3 separate regions of the Homo sapiens genome follow, and regions 1 and 3 are each linked to region 2. Evidence: promoter capture Hi-C in 16 types of primary human blood cells and fetal thymus (Javierre and others, 2016). All regions are on one chromosome and are shown on one strand. The core of a region is centred on a gene start or on the middle of the fragment in contact, and the rest is flanking DNA. Distances in the headings are between cores, read along the strand shown. Region 1 overlaps USP39 (ubiquitin specific peptidase 39). Region 2 holds the start of SH2D6 (SH2 domain containing 6). Region 3 holds the start of C2orf68 (chromosome 2 open reading frame 68).

Region 1 (2,700 bases), core at 1-2,500, 220 kb before region 2:
TTTTCTGAGTTGGAAGGAAGCAAACTAAAAGCATCTAGTACAACTCTAGTGTGCAAAAAGGTGTGATGGCCAGCAAATAGATGGGCAGACCCTCACTACTCAGGACATCTTCCAAACCAGGCAGAATCCTACCTGTCTTATCCTACTTGCATCATTTCTTCTTCTCTACGCAGGAAGACTATAATTTCCAGCTAGCAACAGGAGAGAAGATAAAATAGGGATTGCATCCCAATAAACATCAATCTTTTGTGGTCCCTGAAATAAGTGTATCCTTCCAATAAAAACTCTTATCTACTGTAGGTAGGCTCTGTTCCTTGTAATCCCCAACTAAGACAGTCCAAAATTAATACTGGTAAAAATACAAGAGAAGAAATCCAGGTTCACTCCCCGTGAGAGAAGTGAGGCAGGATGTTACTTACGTAATAGGGAAATTGACAATAGTTGGATTCTTCTCAACAAAGAAGTTGTTCTTAGTGAATCTCTTGATACAAAAGATTAGATATGGAGGCAACTTGGTAAGCTGGAAGCGCTTCAGAAAGTTCTCCTTGTAAGTCTTATATTCCTAGAGAAAGAAAAGAAAATTCTCAAATTAGTGCTGAAGTTCAGTAGTATTAGAGCAGGGGCATGAGTTTTTCATTTCGATTTTTTAAAATATAATTTTGCCTCACACTTAAGTTCACAAGACTCCTGGTCCGAGAAATTATGTATGAGGCTTAGGATGTGCAGTTTGGCTAAGGCTGATTTAAAAAAAAAAAAAAAAAAAAAGGCCGGGCCTGGTGGCTCACACCTATAATCCTATCACTGTAGGAGGCCGAGGCAGGGGGATCATTTCAGCACAGGAGTTCGAGACCAGCCTTGACAACATGGTGAAACCCCATCTCTACTAAAAAGGAAAAAGAAAAAAAAAGAAAAAAAAAATATATATATATATATGTAAAGAAAGAAAACTAACCAGGCACGGTGGCTCATGCCTGTAATCCCAACACTTTGAGAGGCTGAGGCAGGCAGATCACTTGAGGCCAGGAGATCGAGACCAGCCTGGCCAACAGGGTGAAACCGCATCTCTACTAAAAATACAAACATTAGCTGGGCATGGTGGCATGTACCTGTAGTCCCAGCTACTCGGGAGGCTGAGGCAGAAGAATCGCTTGAACCCGGGAGGTGGAGGTTGCAGTGAGCTGAGATCACACCACTGCACTCCAGCCTAGGCAACAGAGTGAGACTCCATCTCAAAAAAAAAAAAAAAGTATGTCTCCCCACTTTTTGGAGTTTCTCCTCTCCTAAATGACCTTCCTTTCTCTATACTACCCCAGAGGCAGGCAGAAAGCTGAAAACAGGATATATGAGAAGTACAAGAGGGGGCACTGTGGTTGGGCAGTGGTTCACATCTGTAATCCCAACACTTTGGGAGGTCGAGGTGGGAGGATCCCTTGAGGCCAGGAGTTAAAGAATGGCCTGGGCAACAAAGTGAGCACTCTCTCTACAAAAATACTTAGTTGGATGTGGTGGAGTGTGTCTAGTCCCAGCTACTTAGGATGCTGAGGTGAGAGGATCACTTGAGCCCAGGAGTTTGAGGCTGCAGTGAGCCATGATCACGCCACCATGATCACCCAGACTAGGTGATAAAGCTAGACCCTGTCTCAAAAAATAATAAAAAGGGGCACTATAAGTTAAGAGTTGGGGGTGACCAGTGAGAAATACCAACGAGTCTGGGAGGCTCAATAAAGTCAATATAATTTATAATAAATACGTCACATACATGTGGTGATTCTTACATATAAAATGAAAATGGGCCAGGTGTGGTGGCCCACGCCTGTAATCCCAGCACTTTGGGAGGCGAGGCAGGCTGATCACTTGAGGTCAAGAGTTCGAGACCAACCTGGCCAACATGCTGTCTCTACTAAAAATATAAAAAATTAGCCAGTCATGGTGGCGGATGTCTGTAATCCCAGCTACTAGGAAGGCTGAGGCAGGAGAATCGCTTGAAACTGGGAGGTAGAGATTGCAGTCAGCCGAAATCACGCCACTGCACTCCAGCCTGGGCGACAAGAGCAAAACTCTGTCTTGAAAAAAAAAAAAAAAAGAAAATGAAAAAGTCGAGAGAGCGAGGGTAAGTATAGGCAGGGCAGGTGTGTTAATGGGCTACCTTCTCAGTGATGCCATTGAACTTAGCCAGGATGTTGAAGAGTGGCACTTGGGGAATGATGAGCTGCTCCTTCTCGTCCTTGTAGAGGGGGGCAGTAGGAAGGTCCAGCGTCAGGTACATAAAAGTGGACTCCACCATTGTCTCCTGGTACTCGTCATTATGGAGCAACTGCTCTTTTTCTTCTGCTGGCTAGAAATGAATGAGAAGAAAAGAGAGGAAAGGAGTGTGACGGGTATAGGAACCAACACAGAACCGATGTTTTACCACGCCGACATTTCCTTCATCTGAAAGAACAAAGAGAAGTGCCCGAGAGATTGGGCAGTTTGGCATGCACCACCTGGTTAGATTAACTTAAGAACCAACAGGTTTCCTTCTTTAAAGATATTTTGCTTATATACCAGACTATCTAAAAAGCCCTGAGGCCAAGTGTGATGGCTCACGGCTGTAATCTCAACACTTTGGGAACAAAGGTGAGAGGACTGCTTGAGTCCAGGACTTCCAGACCAGCCTGGGCAACACAGTGAGACTCCATCTCTACAAAAAAAAAAAAAAAT
Region 2 (2,700 bases), core at 69-2,568:
TGGTACCTATCTCTCCTCTCTAGGGGCAAAAGGGCTACTCAACAAAAGGCTGATTGTTTTAACAGAAACACTCAGAAAACCAAACCTTTGAGAACTTCCCAGGCAGAAATAGGCATGCTTAGAGACCACGCGACCAGTTAATATGAACCCCACATCTGCTATCAAGAGAATCTGGGCAATCTACTTTGAATATCCCTTTTGGAGCTGTTTCTAGGTGTTTAGAGATCAAATGAAATATTTCTAGGAAGTAGCTCGCCTCGAACTAACCACACAAGAATGAAATCTCACTGACTTACAAGGTCATGGCTAAACCTTCATTGACTAGGTATTTTCCTCCTTCCTTGATGATCCAGTATGTAGCAGTATATGCCCAGATCAGGAAGTGTAAAAGCTGAAAATGGAGTTGGAGACAGAAAGTCCAATGTGTTGCTGGCCACTGTGGTGTCACTGCTCCCGATACAGGTGTAACCTGAGTCTCCCGCTTGGGAGCCAGAAATCAGCTGAGAAGAGGCCTCTGGAAAGAGGCTGCCCTGGCCCAGAAGGGTGGATGAAGTAGGGCCTCAGCACAGCTCATCCTACCGAGCAGGCCGGACCCTGAGTTCCTGGCTTGCACTGAAGGGTCTGGGTAAGTCCCTTCTGTAGCGCCTCAGAAGCTCCTTGGGCAACCTGGGAAGTTAGGACAAGAGCTCTGACATTTGACCCTGAGGTGTGAGGAGAGTGCTTTGAGAGAGAGGATGCTGAATGCGAGCGCCCTGGTTATTACCTCCTGGCAGCCTCCTAACCTCACCTTGACTCTGCCATGTAAAATTGATGCCTGGGCGCAGGGCGCCGACGATGGTCAGATACCGCGGCCTGCACACCCTGGGACCTACATCCCTGACCTGGAGGACCCAGGCCTTCCCCGGGCTTCACCACGAGTCCTGCCGGCCACACAGGGACCCTAACAGACCTAGTCCAGTCTCAGGGTCTGGGCTGCTCCTCCTTCCAGGAATGGGAGTTTGCTCTAGGCGATGGAGGAAGGGTTCAGGAGGCCACTCTGCCTGCTTAGCAGGCTGTGGGCCCAACCCCCCACCCACCATCTTCATCTCCCACGGCCCCAACCTCGTAGGGAGGGCAGGGCGGGGCTCAGGTTCGCAGAGAAGGAGGGCTCGGACCAGCGACTCCAGGGCAGAGGGGCGCGTGCAGGGGTGGGGAGCTGGGTTTGCGAGGAGAGAAGGCCATCTCTTCCCCAGCAGGGTAGCCCCCACCTAGCTACCGGGATCCCACCCTGGCTGGCGCAATCTTTGCGTCCGGATCAGCACCCAAGGCCCCGCCCAACGGCCCGCTGCCTGCCGGGATTTGTAGTTTGTAGGGGAGGGGCCAAAAGGCGCGCGCGCGCGCGTGTGTGTGTGTGCGTGTGTGACTGTGTGTTTGTGAGACTGTGTGTGTAAGTGTGTCCGGGGGTCTGTTGTGGTGCTCCCGTCCCCGAGGGCCCTCCGGACCTGGGCTCAGCAAAGGCACCACAGGCCGCAGCTTCCGAGACCCCGCCCCGCGGCCCACTGCCTGCTGGGATTTGTAGTTCTTAGGGGTCTAGGGCCCAGGCTGGGGCCGGGTTGGGGCCTTACACGCGTCCTGGCGTGTGGCTCTCCTGCGTCCTCGTTTTTCTCGTGAGCCCTGGATCTGGACAGTGGGCCCGGCGCGAGGCCCTCAACTCCGGCTGGGCTCCCGGTGGCACTTTCTGCCGACCCTGAGATGTACCCGCCACGCCTGCGGGACTGACCTCTAGGTGGGCAAACCGAGGCACAAAGAGGGGCGCGCTCTGGCCGGAGTCGGCCCTCTTGTGAGAATTTGGGCTGGGAGACCCAGCCCAGGCCTGGCAGGCAAGGCTGGGTCAGGCGAGGGTCCTGGGCCCTTTCGGTGTAAGAGTGTGCAAAATAATGAACAGGCCTGCCCAGGACTGGCTCTGCACATTAGCGCTAGTTACCTTACAGGCTTGACTGATCAGATTTTTATTTGGCACCACTACAGAGGGGAGCCCAGGGAGGGAGGAAGTCTCTCGTGACCAAGAAAACCTATGGTCCACCCTGGCCTACAACTCTGCTTTAACGACAAAAATAAACCGAGTTTGGGAGGGGGTGAGGAGGAGGGGTGTTTTGTAAACTGTGAAGTCCAGGTTATGAGTGAGGTGTTATTATCATCAGGATCAGACCTCAAAGCACTGGAGGAAAGGTCTGGGCCTTCAAGAGCCTCACCTCAAAAGGGAGGGTATGGCCGGGCGCAGTGGCTCACGCCTGTAATCCTAGCATTTTGGGAGGCTGAGGCAAGCAGATCACCTGAGGTCAGGGGTTCAAGACCAGCCTGGCCAACATGTCGAAACCCCATCTCTACTAAAAATAGAAAAAATTACCCGGGCGTGGTGGCACGTGCCTGTAATCCCAGCTACTCGGGAGGCTGAGGCAGGAGAATTGCTTGAACTCAGGAGGCGGAGTTTGCAGTGAGCCGAGATGGTGCCACTGCACTCCAGCCTGGGCAACAGAGCCAGACTCTGTCTCAAAAAAAAAAAAAAAAAAAAAAAGAGCTGAGATAGCTGTTTGCATGTGAAAGGACTCACAACTGGCACTAGCATGCGGTGATAGTGGGGAGGGCATGGACTCCCACTACATGGCTCCCATCTATCCTCTGCCGCTTACTAAGTGGGACCTAGAACAAGTGATTTTGACC
Region 3 (2,707 bases), core at 79-2,578, 190 kb before region 2:
ATTACAAGCACCGGCCATCAAGCCCAGCTAATTTTTTGTATTTTTTTTTAGTAGAGACGGGGTTTCACCATTTTGGCCAGGCTAGTCTCGAACTCCTGACCTCTTGATCTGCCCGCCTGGGCCTCCCAAAGTGCTGGGATTACAGGCGTGAGCCACCACGCCCGGCTCTTTCTTTCTTTTTTAATGTATTTTTTTCTTGTAGAGACGATGTCTCGCTGTGTTGCCCAGGCTGGTCTCAAATTCCTCCCTCCAGCGATACTCCCACTTCGGCATCCCAAAGTTTTGGAATTACAGACATGAGCCACTGCATCCAGCCGTTTGTCCCTGTCCTAATCATGAATTCCTGATTTTGACTTTTGTAAAAGGACTTGAGAATTTTACACGCTGTGACGTGAACCCAGTGGTCAGAAAAAATAGAAAAAAAAAAAAAAGGGGCCGGGCACGGTGGCTCATGCCTGCAATCCCAACACTTTGGGAGGCCGAGGCAGGCGGATCACCTGAGGTCAGGAGTTCGAGACCAGCCTGGCCAACGTGGTGAAACCTTATCTCTACCAAAAATACAAAACTTAGCCGGGCGTGGTGGCACGCGCATGTAGTCCCAGCTACTCGGGAGGCTGAGGCAGGAGAATCGCTTGAACCCGGGAGGCGGAGGTTGCAGTGAGCCGAAATCACGCCAATGCACTCCAGCCTGAGCGACAGAGTGAGACTCCTTCTCAAAAAGAAAAAAAAAAGGAAAAATAAATAAAAAAGAAAATAATACACCCGTAGGTCCCTCAAAAACCCTGGGTCCTCCCGCGGGGACAGTTAAGCCATCGGCGCCGTGAGCAGGAGGCAAGCCGGGCCAGGAGAGCCTTCGCGGCGCCTGCGGCCTGGGCGCCGCTGTTGCCCTGCCTGAGCACTTCAAGGCCTCACAATCCATTTGAGGTAGGTGCTCTAGGTGTTCCCATTTACTAATGAGGAAACTGAGAAGTGGCAGCGTTACACAGTCAGCCAAAGTCACGCAGATGGCGATGGATTGCACAGCATCCTATTACCAGAAAAAAGATGGGAAGGCACCGCCGTAAGCATCGAGTTGTGTTATAGATGATTTGCATTTTTCTGAAGGTTCTGGTATCAGCTGTAAGCCGAAGTCCTTGTTTCCTATTGATATGTTACGAAAAAACAAACAAAAAAAAACAAAAACAAAAGCCCTCCGTCCGGGGGGTGGAAGTCAAGCATACCCTACTCCACCCGACCCGACCAGACCCGAAAACTCCGTGCGCTGCATCGCTTGGCCAGGCCGGGGCCTCCCAGACCGGAAGTCAGGATGCGGGGCCGGAAGCTGAGCAAGGGGCGGCGCGGAGCTCTGTGGGCGGGTGGCTGTTGTTGGGGCCGTCGAGGCGGCGGCGACTCTGCGTCCCCGGCTCCTGATGGAGGCGGGGCCGCATCCCCGGCCGGGGCACTGCTGCAAGCCTGGGGGGCGGCTGGACATGAACCACGGCTTCGTGCACCATATCCGACGGAACCAGATCGCTCGGTACCGCCCCGCCCTGCGCCGCCGCCGCCACCACTCCTGGCCTGGCCTGGCCCGGCCCGACAGTCCCTGACTCCCGCTCGGCTCCCCGCAGGGACGACTATGACAAGAAGGTGAAGCAGGCGGCCAAGGAGAAGGTGAGGAGGCGGCACACGCCCGCGCCGACGCGGCCCCGCAAGCCAGACCTGCAGGTGTACCTGCCGCGACACCGAGGTGAGGCCGCCCGCCCCGCCTGCCTCCAGCCCGCGCGCTCTTCCTGCAACGCACTCCCCTTCTCTATAGGGAAAAACCACTTCTTACTCCTAAGGTTCAGCTCATCTCGTCTCTTTCCGGAACCTCCACCTCAGCGCTCCCAAATCTCCGCTGAATGATTCTCACCAAGAACTGGGACGACTCATAAGCCCCCAGTTAAGCATCGCTGTCAGAGTATCGGGGAGCCAGCAAGAAGTTTATCTGCCGGTTTGCCCCACCGTGCTGTATTTTAGTAAGGTGCTCCGCTACCTAGCAAAGAGAAAGTCTGGCACAGCGATGAGCGACCAGCACATAATTGCGGAATGAACCCAGTAAATGGCCTTTCCCCAGCTTCTCTGCTACCTAGAGATCACACTGGTTAATATATGACGGTCAATTTTTGTTAAGCATTATTACTTTTTTTAAAATGTTTTTATTTTATTTTTGAGACTAGGTCTCTGTCGCCCAGGCTGGAGTGCAATGGTGCGATCTGGGCTTACTGCAGCCTTAGCCTCCCGAGTACCTGGGACCACAGGCGTGTGCCACCACACCGGTTAATTTTGGTATTTCTTGTAGAGAAGGGGTTTCCCCGGCTGGGCGCGGTGGCTCTCGCCTGTAATCCCAGCACTTTGGGAGGCCGAGGCGGGCGGATCACGAGGTCAGGAGATCGAGACCATCCTGGCTAACATGGTGAAACCCCCGTCTCTACTAAAAATACAAAAAATTAGCCGGGCGTGGTGGTGGGCGCCTGTAGTCCCAGCTACTCGGGAGGCTGAGGCAGGAGAATGGCGTGAACCCGGGAGGCGGAGCTTGCAGTGAGCCGAGATCGCGCCACTGCACTCCAGCCTGGGCAACACAGCAAGACTCGGTCTCAAAAAAAAAAAAAAAAGAGAGAGAGAGAAGGGGTTTCTCCACGTTGTCCAGGCTGATCTCGAACTCCTGAGCTCAGGTGATCTGCCCGCA

What was found. Contacts are between HindIII fragments. The CHiCAGO score rates a contact against its expected background, and 5 or more counts as called.
Region 1: a contact is called between a fragment that was not itself captured here and the fragment with the promoter of SH2D6 in region 2, in 1 of 17 cell types (endothelial precursors). The highest score is 5.5, in endothelial precursors.
Region 3: the fragment with the promoter of C2orf68 here is called in contact with the fragment with the promoter of SH2D6 in region 2 in 8 of 17 cell types (endothelial precursors, erythroblasts, monocytes and 5 more); the score reaches 7.6 in endothelial precursors.

The regions. Positions count from the first base shown.
Region 1 is chr2:85,638,838-85,641,537 of GRCh38, reverse strand. It overlaps USP39 (ubiquitin specific peptidase 39), which reads right to left. Exons shown (of 13, transcript NM_006590.4): 9 at 2,147-2,335; 10 at 420-562. Among named protein-coding and RNA genes, the nearest start is that of USP39, 24 kb to the right of the region's middle. The HindIII fragment of the contact is 4,567 bases long and covers 1-2,700 here.
Region 2 is chr2:85,417,332-85,420,031 of GRCh38, reverse strand. SH2D6 (SH2 domain containing 6) reads right to left here and starts at 1,318. Exons shown (of 24, transcript NM_001394463.1): 1 at 1,102-1,318; 2 at 788-1,003. It also overlaps a transcript of CAPG not described here. RefSeq lists enhancers at 1,698-1,857, 1,336-1,871, 1,868-1,977. The HindIII fragment of the contact is 6,915 bases long and covers 1-2,700 here.
Region 3 is chr2:85,610,687-85,613,393 of GRCh38, reverse strand. It overlaps C2orf68 (chromosome 2 open reading frame 68), which reads left to right and starts at 1,328. Exons shown (of 4, transcript NM_001013649.4): 1 at 1,328-1,516; 2 at 1,608-1,726. The coding sequence starts at 1,410. It also overlaps a transcript of USP39 not described here. RefSeq lists silencers at 828-1,000, 1,487-1,556, 1,176-1,557 and an enhancer at 987-1,216. The HindIII fragment of the contact is 26,854 bases long and covers 1-2,707 here.